Regions from separate parts of the Homo sapiens genome. Here region 2 is linked to region 1. Evidence: promoter capture Hi-C in human tissues and cell types (Jung and others, 2019). All regions are on one chromosome and are shown on one strand. Each heading gives the region's core, a stretch centred on a gene start or on the middle of the fragment in contact. The rest is flanking DNA. Distances are from core to core; before and after follow the strand shown.

Region 1 (6,798 bases), core at 4,131-6,630:
AATCACTCCCTCCTCCCTCTGGGGATTCAGAGACCTCAAGTACCAGGTTTTCCTTCACCCATACAGGGTTCATCTTCCTGGGAGGTGGGATCTTTCCTGATCATGTTCTTTTATGGCCCTGTCCACCACTCCCTCCAACCCCAAGCACAGGGTGGGCACTCAAGCATCTGCTGAACAAATGTATGCATCTGAAGAGCAGAGACATAGTGTACGAAGACGCAGTCAAGTCAGTACGTGATTTTGTTTTAATAACGCAAAGGCAGTAGAAGCATTTCACAGAGTTCATTCAACAGGTAAAGACATAAAGAAAAAGACCTAGAGATACAAAGAATATACTTAATATCTATTTACTCAGCACCTAAAATGTACTGACCACTGTCCTACTTGCCTTACCAGCACTGTCCAGTAGAATTTTCTGTGATAATGAGAATGTCCAATACTTAAACTGTCCAACACCGTAGCCACTAGCCACATGTGGCTATTGAGCACTTGAAATGGGCTACTATGACTGAGGAACTGAATTTTTTATTTTATTTAATTTTAATTAAATTTAAATAGTGACCAGAAGGTAGGTACAGTGGTGCATGCCTGTAGTCCCAAGTTCTCTGGAGACTGACACGGGAGGATGGCTTGAGCCCAGGAGTTTGAGGCTAGCCTGGGCAACATAGCGAGACCCTGTCTCTGACAAGAAATAAGTAAATAAATAGCGACAGTAGCTATGACTATTGTATTGGACAGCACAGCTTTAGACGTATTAAAATTGGCCTGTCAGTGCTACCTCCAAAACACACTGAAGGTCTAACCACTTCTCTCCATCTCCATTGCTGCCATGCTAGTCCCAGCCAACATCAGCTCTCTTTGGACTTCTGAAATTGCCTTCTAACCCATCTCCCTGCTTCCTTTCCTGCACCCCTACAGTCTACTCTCCAGTCGAAAAAGCTTTAAAAACATAAACCAAATCACATAATTTCCCTATCTAAATTCTTCAGTGGCTCTCTATTGCCCTTACAGTAAAATCAAAGCACTTTGCCCTAGAAAATCTGACCTCTGCTTTTCCCTCTGGCCTCATCCTCCACCACTCTTCCCCTGTTCTCTCCACTCAACAGACTCTGGTTTCCTTCTATTGCTTGACCAACATTCCCACTCACAGCCTTTGCCCTTGCTGTTCCCTCCCTCTGGAATGCTCTTCCCCAAGCTCTCTGCTTGACTGGCTCCTTCCCATCCTCCAGGCCTTAACTCAATAGTCACCTCCTCAGAAGAGGTCTTTCTTTACCAATTTTTTTTTTTTTTTTTTTTGAGATGGAGTCTCGCTCTGTTGCCCAGGCTAGAGTGCAGTGGTGCCATCTCGGCTGACTGCAACCTCTGCCTCCCAGGTTCAAGCAATTCTCCTACCTCAGCCTCCTGACTAGGTGGGATTACAGGCACATACCACATAGCCTGGCTATTTTTTGTATTTTTAGTAGAGACGGGGTTTCACCATGTTGCCAGGCTGGACTGGAACTCCTGACCTCAGGTGATCCGCCCACCTCGGCCTCCCAAAGTGCTGGGTTTATAGGCGTGAGCCATCGAGTCCGGCCTGACCAAGGAATTTAAAGCAGCAGCACACCCCTCACCCCATCCCACCACTATCTGTCTCATTACTATTATATATTTCTTTCTTTCTCATCCTTCATTATAATCAATAGTGATCTTCAATTATTTATTTCTGTGTTTGATCAGTCATCTCCACATAAATGCTGACCGTCTGTCTTATTCATTGCTGTATCCCCAACACTTAGTACCTGGCACATAGTAGGTGCTTAATAAGTCCTTGTGTTGGATTTCAGTAACTTGAACTTGTTAATAAAAAACAGTGTATGGGGCCGGCTTGGTGCCATGTGCCTGTAATCCCAGCTACTGGGGAGGCTGAGGCAGGAGAATCGCTTGAACCCGGGAGGTGGAGGGTAGAGGTTGCAGTGAGCCGAGATCGTCCCACTGTACTCCAGCCTGGGAGACAGAGCAAGACTCCATCTCAAAAACCAAAAACCAAAACCAAAACAAAAAAACACTGTATGGGCCCAATGCAGTGGCTCACACCTGTAATCCCAGTACTCTGGAGGCTGAGGTGGGAGGACTGCTTGAGCCCAAGAGTTCAAGACCAGCCTAGGCAACACAGGGAGACTCTGTCTCTATAAAAAATTAAAAAATAAAAATAAGCCAGGTGTTGCAGTATATGCCTGTAGTCCCAACTACTCCAGAGGCTGAGGCAGGAGGATTGCTTGAGCCCGGGAGGTCAAGGCTGCAGTGAGCCATGATCTCACCACTGTACTCCGGTCTAGGTGACAGAGCGAGACCCTGTCTCTAAAGAAAAAAAAAAAATTAGCTGGGCGCAGTGGCTCACGCCTCTAATCCCAGCACTTTGGGAAGCCGAGGTGGGTAGATCACCTGAGGTCAGGAGTTCAAGACCAGTCTGACCAACATGGTGAAACCCCATTGCTACTAAAAACACAAAAAAATAAAAAAAAAATAGCCAGGTGTGGTGGCAGGCGCCTGTAATCCCAGCTATTTGGGAGGCTGAGGCAGGAGAATTGCTTGAACCCAGGAGGTGGAGGTTGCGGTAAGCCAAGATCATGCCACTGCACTCCAGCCTGGGCAACAGAATAAGACTCCACCTCAAAAAAAAAAAAAAAAGAAAGAAAGAAAGAAAGAAAATTATAAAACATAATTCCCTGAATTTCAATTCCAATTTGCTTTGCACAGCTGAAGTACTTGTACTATTTTAAATACCTTTAGAGTTAGGCTGGACGTGGTGGCTCACGCCTATAATCCCAGCACTTTGGGAGGCCAAGGTGGGTGGATCGCTTTGAGCTCAGGAGTTGGAGACCAGCCTGGGCAACATGGTGAAACCCCATCTCTACAAAAAGTACAAAAGTTAGCCAGGCAGGCCATGCGTGGTGGCTCACACCTGTAATCCCAACACTTTGGGAGGCCAATCACTTGAGGCCAGGAGTTCAAAACCAGCCTGGACAACATGTTGAAACTCCATCTCTACCAAAAGTACAAAAATTTAGCTGGGCATGGTGGCACACGCCTGTTATCCCAGCTACTCAGGAGGCTGAGGCAGGAGAATCCCTTGAACCCAGGAGGTGGAGGTTGCAGTGAGCCAAGATCGCGCCACTGCACTCCAGCCTGAGTGACAAAATGAGACCCTGTCTCAATAAATAAATAAATAAATAGAGTTAATCTTTTTATTTGAAACACTGGCAGTTAAGAGTGAATGTGGTTACTTCTGAAAGAATTTCACTCTGTGTCAAAACCTGTCACATCTCAGGTCTATTGAAGAAGCTGGATTTGAAGACTACGTTTCTGTTTGGGTTCGCTGCCTCTTTTCCAGCAAGCATGGGAGGACCAAGTAGGTGTCACCACCATTCTGTGCTCTGGGGTTACAGTCACAAACATGACAAAATGCTCTCATGAAGCTTATATTCTGGAGATAATGGATGAGGTTGGGGCTGGAGGTATAAATTTGAAGACCAGCATGTGTAGATGGCATTTAAAACCACAGAACTGGGGCGAGGCCTGGTGGCTCATGCCTGTAATCCTAGCACTTTGGGAGGCCAAGGTGGGAGGATCACTTGAGCCCAGGAGTTTGAGACCAGCATGGCCAACATAGTGAGGCCTCAGCCTCAACAAAAGATTTTAAAAATTAGCTGAACATGGTGGTGCACCCCTGTGGTCCCAGCTACTGGGGAGGCTGAGGTGGGAGGGTTGCTTGAGCCTGGGAGGTAAAGGCTGCAGTGAGCTATGATCACACCACTACACTCGAGCCTGGGCGACAGAGCAAGACCCTGTCAGAGAGAAAGGGGAGGGGAGGGGAGGAAGGAAGGAAGGAGAGAGAGAGAAAGAAAGAAAAAAGAAAAAACCACATAACTGAGTATAAAGAAAAAAGTGGGAACTTTGGAGCACACCCACATTTATAGGTTGGGAAGAGGAAAAGGGTCTAGCAAAAGGGACTGAGAAGGAGTCTGCCATGAAGTGAGGGGGGACTCAGAAGAGTCTGGGTTTCTGGTGGACACTGAAGAAAGTTTTCAGCCTTCTGCCGTCAGCCTCTCTTGGAACTGCTCTGAGCCTAGGGAGCTACCTCACTTGAAGGCTCTCCTAGAAGCCGCCAGCCAATGACGAGTTGCTATGAGGTGTAAAGACCCCACCCCCTTGCCTTACTTTGGAACACCTCTGCAGGGCCATCTCAGTTCCAGAGCTTCCATTAGGTCAGGCTGAGGCCTCTGTTGAGACTACATCAGCAGTTCAGCTTCTTCTTCCGCCCAACCCGTCATTCCCCTACTGGTGATATTCGCAAGAGCACTCCGATAAACCTACACTCAAATCTTGCTATCGGAGTCTGTTTCGGGGGACCCGACCTAAAACAACCATTGTAGCCCCAGCCCAGAGCCGTGCACATAGCAGATGCTCAATAAATATCTGTTGGCTGAATGTGTCCATGGGTATTTTCTCTTGATGTCTGACAAGGTTTTCTCAATCCCTTGCCTTCCAAGGCCTTGTATACAAAAACGACCAATAAATGTCCTTACTATAGGTGTTGGGTGGGGAGTAGAGCCCTCGACAGCTACCCAGAAAACAACACACAGCAAGGCTGAGCGCTACAAACTTGGGGCCTCGGCCCCGCCCCTCGCCGCAGCTGCTTCCCGGACTCGGGAGGGGACGGAAGCGGCCCTGAGCGCAGGGTTCCAGGATCGGGACCCGCCACCAGCCTCCCGGGACTGGTATAGGCAAAGGCGGGCGGGGCGGTCACTGATCCGACAGTTCCGCAGAACGGTTACTTTTTAAAACGCTAAAATGGCGGAATTCTTTTTATTCTTTCTCTTTATGGCCAAAAAAAAAAAAAGAGAGAGAAACAAAAAAAATTCCATATTCCATTATAAAAATCCAAAATTAATGGTAGGAAAGTTTGCCAAATGACTCATTCATTTCCCAAGAAAACCAAAACCCCGCCCTCCACACCTTTCCATTAATAAAAAAACTCTTAATTGATTGCGTATCTCCAAACACGCAGCCTCCACCCTCCTCGCCCCTCCTGATCGCAGCCCGAAGCCACGCCGCAGGGTCGGCTGGGCCTGGAGTCCCGCACCCGCCTGGCCCCCTGCGCGCTCCGCCCAGACCGCTTTCCCCGGCGTTTTCCCGAACCTCCTCCCCAGCCCGCGCCCCCCGCCGGAGGCGCTCGGAAGGAGCGAGACGCCGGGGCCGCAGACCTGAGCCCTCGCCGCCCTGGACGGAGCGGGGTGGCGCGGCGCCCAGGGGACGCAAGGTCTGAGCCCACGCACCGCTGGTTGCTTACCTGCCTGGCCAGCCGGTGGCCGCCCAGCGCCTAGCTACGGTCCGAGCCGGGCGCCGCGCGCCTGCGCGTTCGGGGGGCGGGTCCGCCTCCCTGCAGGACGCAGAGCGCGGGGCCCGAGCGCCGGGCACATCTGCCCGGCCCAGGCGCAGGCCCAGGCTTCTGTGGCGCCCGCGCCCTCTTGCCTGCCTTCGAGGCCCTGGTTGTGCGCGCCTCATGCCCCCTCAACCTAGGACAGGTTTGCCGCACGGGCGTGGCGGGTCGAGATTTTTCCTGCCCCCGAACCCCTGCATCACAGCTAGCAGAGCGCAGCGGGGGCGCAGGGACCGCGGAGCTCGAAGAGAGAGCCTGGAGGGCTACCGAGCTGAGTGGTTAGTGACAAAAGACGAGGCTGCACCCAGGCATGCACCCCAGCCGAGTGTCTGCTCTGTCCAACGCCTTCCCACCGCGCCTGCCCTCACCCTGGAGGGGAGCTCAGGAGCGTCAGAAAACGGCCTCAGGAAGGGTGAAGGGCACGTGCGACCGGAGAGAGGAACCCTCGTGCGGGGACTCTGGTCCTGGCCCTGCCGGGCATAAAGAGCGGCATTAGCCGCGTCTACTTTTGGGTGACCCCACTGCGAAGGGCTGGGTAACATCAGTATCCCCCAGGTCCTCCATTTCGACATTGGTAAAGACTATCACCCACTTCATGGCGTATGGTCGTTTTCAGTTTGGGTTCCTGTGGTGGTGTAGCAATCACTGCCCCTCTCTGCTTCACTTTGACTGATCTCTTCGCCTCCACCTGATCTCTCTAATTAATCAAATCTCCTTGTTATTGGTTCTGGTAACACAAGATACCTGTCTCGCTTACACATACCACAGCTGGCACTTCACATAGATTTGAGTAATTCCAGAGGCTAAGAGGTTTCAAGCTCCAAGAGGGTAGGAAATATTAGTTTTTGTATTCCTAGTACCTAGCCCAGAGCGGGGCACAGAGTGGGTGCTTAATAAATATCTGTTGAGTGACTAAATGATGTAGGGTATGCAGATGAAAACAGGGTAACTTTTGGTACAGTCCACCATCCAGCCCCTCTCCCACACCAATGATTTAATTTAATCCCTTGATTTTACTTGGCCTTAAGTCATGGCCACATGTCAGACCACCAGGCTCCTGATTCCCTCCCAGGCCAGATGAGAAAAGGGTTCCTAATGAAATGTAGGCAAATTCTCCAAATTGCTGTGATCGACAGGTTTAAATTTATGCAGAATTTAACTATTCCGGTTGCCACGCCAACGCATTGCATGTGTTCTTCCTTGCTGCAATGTCAATTTTTAATCACATCTCATATTATTGGGAACAGGATTGCATCAGTTAAGGATGCTGGTTGCCATAACGATGGATGCCTTTTTCTACACATTGATACATACACAACCATCCGCTCAGTATTCTCTCATCTCAACCTAGACTGTGCGTGATCTAGATTTCAAAG
Region 2 (7,173 bases), core at 551-3,050, 1.8 Mb after region 1:
CTGGAAATGAAGATGATTTATCAGAATCTGAAGAAACAATCAAAAAATAGTGAAGAATGAGGAAGGCACTGGAAGTGGAAGGGTTAAGAAAAAAAACTGTTAGTAAAAGTAAACAATGAAAATGGACCTAATTGAAGCAAGTAATCACTTGAAAGGTGCTTAATGTAGGTTGATCACAGATGTGACCAGCCATTTTTTAAACATTCACATTAACTGTAGAAAGAAGCTTAGAGTCCAATGTTTTTATTTTACTTGAGAGAAAACTGGGGCACAGAAGCATTGAGCATCTTGTTCAAGGTCATACAGCCTATGAGCCCCAGGTCCAGGGTAACTCCTAGATCAGTCCTCTTTCCCCAGCACCACCCTACTCCTAACTGTATATAGCAGATGCTCATTTGGGCTTTCATTTTGCACACAGGGTTTCACAAGAAAAATGAGGTCATTACATAAAAATGCTGGATCCAGCATATTTTCAATGAATTATTACTAGCTGGTTTTGTAGCTACCCCCCTGACCTACCCCCAAAATGTCAGGGTGGTGGTTCAAAGCACTGGCTTCGTTAATCTTCACCATGTGGCAAGTCATCAGTTCACAATGATAGAGAAGGATTCCAGAAGCCAATGGCAGTAGGTGAGGGAGCCCCAATCTGGGGAAGAGAAAGTAAATTCACTCATCTACCATGTTAACCTAGCATCTGCTCTGGGCCAAGTTCTAGGCAGTTTGCTGGGGTGGCAATATCAACAATGCACTGGCCATGTCTGGAGCTATACGTATCCCATCTCCCTGTACCCTGACCTGTGTTCTTGGACACAACTTCAGCTAAAACTGAGGCATAGCTTGGATCTGGAGGGCCCTTGAAGACCTAGCCCAGGGATCTGTAGTCTCAAGTTGAATGTCTTGGAAACAGCCTGAAGTCAGGAACCAATGAGGGGGCTGGAGATACTGTCTAAAAAGGAACTTGAGACATTCCCATACTGGAAAGCACAAATATGGAACATTTTACTCATCTGAAAGAGTTCTATTAAACAGCACTGGCCAAGAGTGCCCTTTCCTGGATTTTCTGCTCCTCTGAGTCCTACCAGTTCTCCTAAGCCCTTCAGCAGCTGATATCAGCAGAGACTGATATGAGTCACTGATTCCTGGAAAAGACAGAACTCTGGTACAATGGCTGTTCCAAGTTGATGTCCTCAGAGGTACAAATGACACACCAGAGACAGAAGTTGTTTCTTAAACTTTCCGGGCTTCTGTGCTAGTAACGGGTGCCAGATGGGGCAAAAAGAACAGAAGGAATATTGAGGGGCTCAACCTTTGAGATCAGAAAGACCCAATTTCCTACCGAGGTTCTCCATTACTAGTTGGGTAATCTTTAGGCAGAGCCTTTGGGCACCAGTTTTCTTAGCAGCAAAAACTGAGAACTATGATTGTCACAAAGATTAAATGAGACAGTGGATGAGACAGTATCTGGCTCATGGGTAAGTGTAGATTTTTTACTCATCTCTTCTTGCGTCCTTTTGGATGCTAATTTCCACTCTGCCAAGGATAAGAACCACATGTCACCTTCTCATCAGGTGACAAGTGGAGGCTAGTCATGGCTAGCTGTTCCACTCATTCTCTTAATGAATATTTGTTATGAAAACAGCAATGGCCAGGTGTGGTGGCTCACATCTGTAATCCCAGCACTTTGGGTCACCTGAGTTCAGGAGTTTGAGACCAGCCTGACCAACATGGTGAAACCCCATCTCTACTAAATACAAAAAATTAGCTGGGCGTGGTAGCGCATGCCTGTAATCCAGCTACTTGGGAGGCTGAGGCAGGAGAATCACTTGAACCCGGGAGGCGGAGGTTGCAGTGAGCCGACATTGCACTGGACTCCAGCCTGGGCGACAGAGCAAGAATCCGTCTCAAAAAAAAAAAAAAAGAAAAGAAAGAAAGAAAAGAGCAACTGCCAGGCCTTGTGTTCTGCATCATACAAAGATAGAAAACACATCCCCAAGAGGAGGAGCTCACTGTCTCTTGGGAAAGACTGGTAGGCAAACCAGTAGTTACACAGCAGGGGGACAAGAAGTGAATTGAGAGTGCACAAGGAGAGCACAGAGGTGATGATATTTCAGCCAAGACAAAGTGTGAATAGAAGTTTGCCTGATCAGCAAGCACATAGGAGAGGGCATGCCAAGCAGAGATAACAGAACTTGCAAAAAAGGAAGACTGGAAAGTGAGGTAAATCCAATTACGAAGGTCTCTGAGCACTGTGCTGAGGAGTTTGAGCTAAAACTTGTAGGGGACACAAAGCCTCTAAAGGAAAGTCAAGTCATCATATTTGAGTACTGAAAATATTCCTATACTGCCAGTGTGGATATGGTTTAGAAGAGGCAAGACTAGGCTGGGTGCAGTGGCTCACACCTGTAATCCCAGCACTTTGGGAGGCCCGGCGGGTGGATCACCTGAGGTCAAGAGTTTGAGACCAGCCTGACCAACATGGAGAAACCCCGTCTCTACTAAAAATACAAAATTAGCCGGACGTGGTGGCGCATGCCTATAATCCCAGCTACTCATGAGGCTGAGGCAGGAGAATCGCTTGAACCTGGGAGGTGGAGGTTGCGGTGAGCCAAGATTGTGCCACTACACTCCAGCCTGGGCAACAAGAGTGAAACTCTGTCTCAAAAAAAAGAAAAGAAAAGAAGAGGCAAGACTGGTAAAAGGAAAGCCAGTCTCAATTTGTTCCACTCTCCCCTACTTCACTGTGTTCCAATCACAAGGGACTTCTCTGAGTTCCTTGAATTGCAAAACACCAAGCTCTTCCCCGCTCAGAGCCTTTGCACTTGCTGATCCCTCTGCCTGGACTACTCTTCTCTTGGCTGTTACACAGCTTCCTTCTTCTCAGCCTTCTTCAAGCATTTCAGACCAAACATTTCTTTCTTTCCCTAATCAATCTAATGTATCAATTTTCCTCCATTATTCTCTCTTGTAGCATCCTGGGGGTGGGGGTGTTCTATTTATCGCAATTTGACATTTTATTCTTATTTGTATTATGTGATCAGTAACTGTCTTCCCCATTAGGCTGTAAACACCATGAAGGTAAGGTTGTGTCTGCCCCTGTTCAACACCATGTCCCAGCACTCAACACACTGCCTGGCACGGTGCTAACACTCAATAAACACCGGATTTATGAGACTGTGAGTACAGCCGAGATGATCATGGCTTAACCAAGTAAGTAGCAGCAAACCTGGGAAAAAGAAACTAATGCTACACGAAGTAAACAGGATAGGTCTTGAGGCAGAATATGGCCTGGAGGCAGGGAACTTAAGGACTTGCTAGAATTAAATCAAATGAAACACTTCAGCTATGATAAGACACATCCTTTTTATTTATTTATTTATTATTTATTTGAGTCTTGTTCTGTCGCCCAGGCTGGAGTGCAACGGCGCGATCTCGGCTCACTGTGACCTCTGCCCGGTTCAAGTGATTCTCCTGCCTCAGCCACCAGGGGATTACAGGCGCATGCCACCACGCCCAGCTAATTTATTTTTATTTTTATTTTTAGTAGAGATGGGGTTTCACCATGCTGACCAGGCTGGTCTCGAATTCCTGACCTCAGGTGATCCGCCCGCCTTGGCCTCCCAAAGTGCTGGGATTACAGGTGTAAGCCACAACTCCCCGCCGAAATATCCTCTTTATTTACATAGGGCATACAATGCCTTTGTAACTTTTAACCTATTCATTTACATAAGGCATACACCAACTAACCAATGGAAACCTCTAGAGGGTATTTAACCCCCAGAAAATTCTATAACAGCGCTCGTGAGCCCCCATGCTCAGCCTGCTCCCACCCTGTGAAATGTACTTTCGTTTTCAATAAATCTCTGCTTTTGTTACTTCATTATTCCCTTGCTTTGTTTGTGCCGTTTTGTCCAATTATTTGTTCAAGACACCAAGAACCTGAACACCCTCCACTGGTAACAGTTTGAGACAAGTATCAGAATCAGTTCCACCTGTACCAAGTTCTAACGGCACTTCTAGCTGTATAGCCTGGGCAGGTCAACCACCTTTTATCCACCATGCTCTCCGTATTCCCCTCGTAAAATGATAACGACACCCTTGCAGCTTGGCTCAGCGAATGTCCTCAAACGCACAAACAACGCTAGGGCTAAATGAGCACACCCGGTAGAGCAGCAGCCGCTCCTCGAGGGCGGAAGTCACAGCCTGATCTAAGTACGGTGGGTAAAATGGATCCCCCATATGCGCAGCGCCATGGTCCTTTGTAACCTCATAAAGTGTCCGATGAGCAGCAGGGGCTGGAGGATAATTTAGGGCCAATATCATTTGTTTCTTTTACATTATTTCGCCATTTCTCAGAATTCTAAAATTTGTTTAATTGAAATATCAGCTTGAGGGATGCTGAAAACTGTACAGAGTAAAAGAAGAATCTCTGCTGAGGGATAACCAAGAGGTAGAGATGGGAAAACGTTCATGCGCAGCACCCCCTGACGGAAGGGAGGAGCTGGTGTGGAAGATCCGCGCAGCCCCGCCTCTTTCGCGGTGGTTCCAGTCCCACTTGGGACCCCCACGCCCCGGGAGTGCTAGCGGGACTCGGAGACCTTCACGTTACTACATTGCCCAGGGGACCCCGAGGCGGGCCTGGTTCTCCTCACAAAGGGAGGGGCCGAGCCGTGACTCGCTTCCTCGCCTCGAAATGCGGGTTGTTTTAATCGAGCAGGTTTCGCCCTTCCCCATCAGCCTGTGAAGCTCCCAAAAACGTCCGGCCAACGGCACCAGTCCCATCTAATCAGCCAGGAGGAAGTAGGCGCCGCAAAGCCCCCTGCGAAATGTAGTTTCCAGGAAGACTTCTGGGAAACAGAGTCCGAGGCAGGCGACAGAGCGCTCTTGCAGCCAAATAGAGCCGGGCTAGGGGCGCGTCACGTGACCTGTGCAGCCAACTGTTCCGAGACGTGGCCTTTGCCTGAGCTGCTGTTAGGAGAGGTGCTCAGGTCTGGGGAGTAGCTCCTACCATCGCCTGGACTCGACTTCTGGACTGGCCTCCAAAAGTCGACACAGCCCCTGCGTCTTTCCTATTCCCCAAACCGGCGCTGACCTCATATTTGCATACACTGAAACTTGTGGCTCTCCTTGACTTGGGTTGGTAGGCTCTATAGGACCTCACCATGTTCTCTTACCCATGGTTTCTGCAGCAGCCAAAATGATCCATTCCATGTGCTTTAGAGCCTTAGGGAATAAACCATTAATCAAGTCATTTGATTGCCTCATCTTTGAGGACATTTTTCACTACCTGTTCACACTCCTTGTGCTCACCCATGACTGTCCCTCAGAAACTTAAGTCCTGGGACCCTTCTGCATTCTATTAGTCTTCTCCTAGTTTCATTTCTTCTCCTAGCCAACTTAGATCCTAAGAATCCTCTCCTGCCTTATTTCCTTCTGTAACAACCTCAAATCCTGAATTAATACAGTTGTCTAATTTTGGGTCTACTAGGTGCAACTGGAGGGGAGGAATACATCTCCTAAGCTCACAGGTTGGTGCCACTAAAATCAAGGTTTCAGACTTCAACTAAGCCCTAAATACAACCAGCTGGTTGCAGCACTGTGGGGAAGGAGGCTAACCAATAGAGGAAAGGGATTCGCTGCCAAGAGTCCTGGTGGAAATACAAGGCTTTGGAAGGACTATCTTTATTGCCTCCCACCTCACCCCTACACTTCATGTTTGTACTAGAATGGCATGAGAATGAAATGTAGAACTGATGCAGGCAAACCCAAAAACTGGGGCTCAGCTTGGGAGGGTTCTTGGCTTCAACCAGGAAAGAATTCAAGAGTGAGCCAACAGTAAAAGAAAGCAAGTTTATTTGAGCAACATGTACAGGAAAATGGCTGCTCCGTAGACAGAGCAGAGCTATCCCATAGGCAGAGTGGCACTCATGGACTAGCTATCTTTATATTCACTCTTAGTTATATGCTTAATAAGGAACAGGTTATTCACAAACTTTCTAGAAAAGGGGCAGGGAGCTCCTGGAACCATATAAAGTAACTTCAAGATGTTGCCATGGAATTTGTAAAGTGTCATGCACTTGTGGGAGTGTCTTTGTGCGAATGTAGTAAAACTCCTAGTCCTAGCTGGTTTGGGCTGGTTTATTTGCTACATCCTGTCCTGATCAGCAGGGTTATGACCAGTGCTCAGAAAACAAGCCCTGCTGATCTGCTACCTCATTACCCTTTCAGAGATTATATACTCCTCTTTAATCGTAAAGTGTTGTAGAAGGATGGAGGTCCATCCTCTGTCACTGCCTCCTACTGATTTTGTGGGCATAGTGTCCTCCTCTTGTGCCTGTGGGGACTTATGAGAAACAGGTTTAATTCTGGACAAGTGTACCCATCTAGTGACTCCCTGAAGTTTAACAGCAGTGGGGATGCTTAACAATGCCTGGTAGGGTACCTTCCATTTTGGTTATAATTGATCCTCGTGGGATCCTTCTTCCCAAGTTTTTAATAGGACTCTGTCTCCTGGTTGAACAGGGGAGCTATTTTTTTTCGTTTGTGAAAAAGGGAAATACCTTATTTCCATATTCTTGAAGGGCCTTTTGAACCTGGTCTAAGTTAATATGAGTAAGCATTCTGTGTGTCTCCTCATCAAACAGGAAGCCTGAAGTTAAAAAAGGGCCCCCCATAGGCCATTTCAAATGGGCTAAGTTTTAAGGTTCCCTTCAGAGCCATCCTTATGCAAAAAAGGGCCATGGAAAGGAGAGATACCCAGGTCTCTGAGGTCTCCTGACAGTTTTGCTAATGTCCTATTTAAAACATGATTGTCTTTTTCTACCTTACCTAAGGATTGAGGCCTCTAGGAGGAGTGAAGATGATAGATAATGCCTAAGGCTGAGGAAACCTGCTGGGTCACCTTAGCTGTGAAGGAAGGTCTCTTATCACTTTGCAAATATGTTGGTAATTCAAAACTTGGGATGATTTTTTTAAAATAACAATGTGGACACTTCCAGTGCTTTTTCTGTCCTTGTGGGGAAAGCTTCTATCCGCCTGATGAAATTGTTATAAGTACTAGCAAATACTTCAGTCCTCTGTATACGGTGGCATCTGGGTGAAACCTATTTGCCAGTCTTCCCCATTGCAGGCTTGAGTAGGGGTGGGGGTATAGGGTGGCTTCCTGAGTTGTTACAG

What was found. Contacts are between HindIII fragments. The study calls those that stand out against the background at their distance.
Region 2: a contact is called between a fragment that was not itself captured here and the fragment with the promoter of L3MBTL1 in region 1, in 1 of the 25 tissues and cell types used here (dorsolateral prefrontal cortex).

What each region holds. Positions count from the first base shown.
Region 1 is chr20:43,506,279-43,513,076 of GRCh38, reverse strand. L3MBTL1 (L3MBTL histone methyl-lysine binding protein 1) reads right to left here and starts at 5,380. Exons shown (of 22, transcript NM_001377303.1): 1 at 5,333-5,380. RefSeq lists a silencer at 5,170-5,499. The HindIII fragment of the contact is 9,495 bases long and covers 2,200-6,798 here.
Region 2 is chr20:41,690,610-41,697,782 of GRCh38, reverse strand. It overlaps LOC124904905 (a long non-coding RNA gene), which reads left to right and starts at 3,608. Exons shown (of 2, transcript XR_007067588.1): 1 at 3,608-4,447; 2 at 4,715-5,248. RefSeq lists enhancers at 3,784-4,023, 4,244-4,463, 4,604-4,813. The HindIII fragment of the contact is 3,648 bases long and covers 1-3,624 here.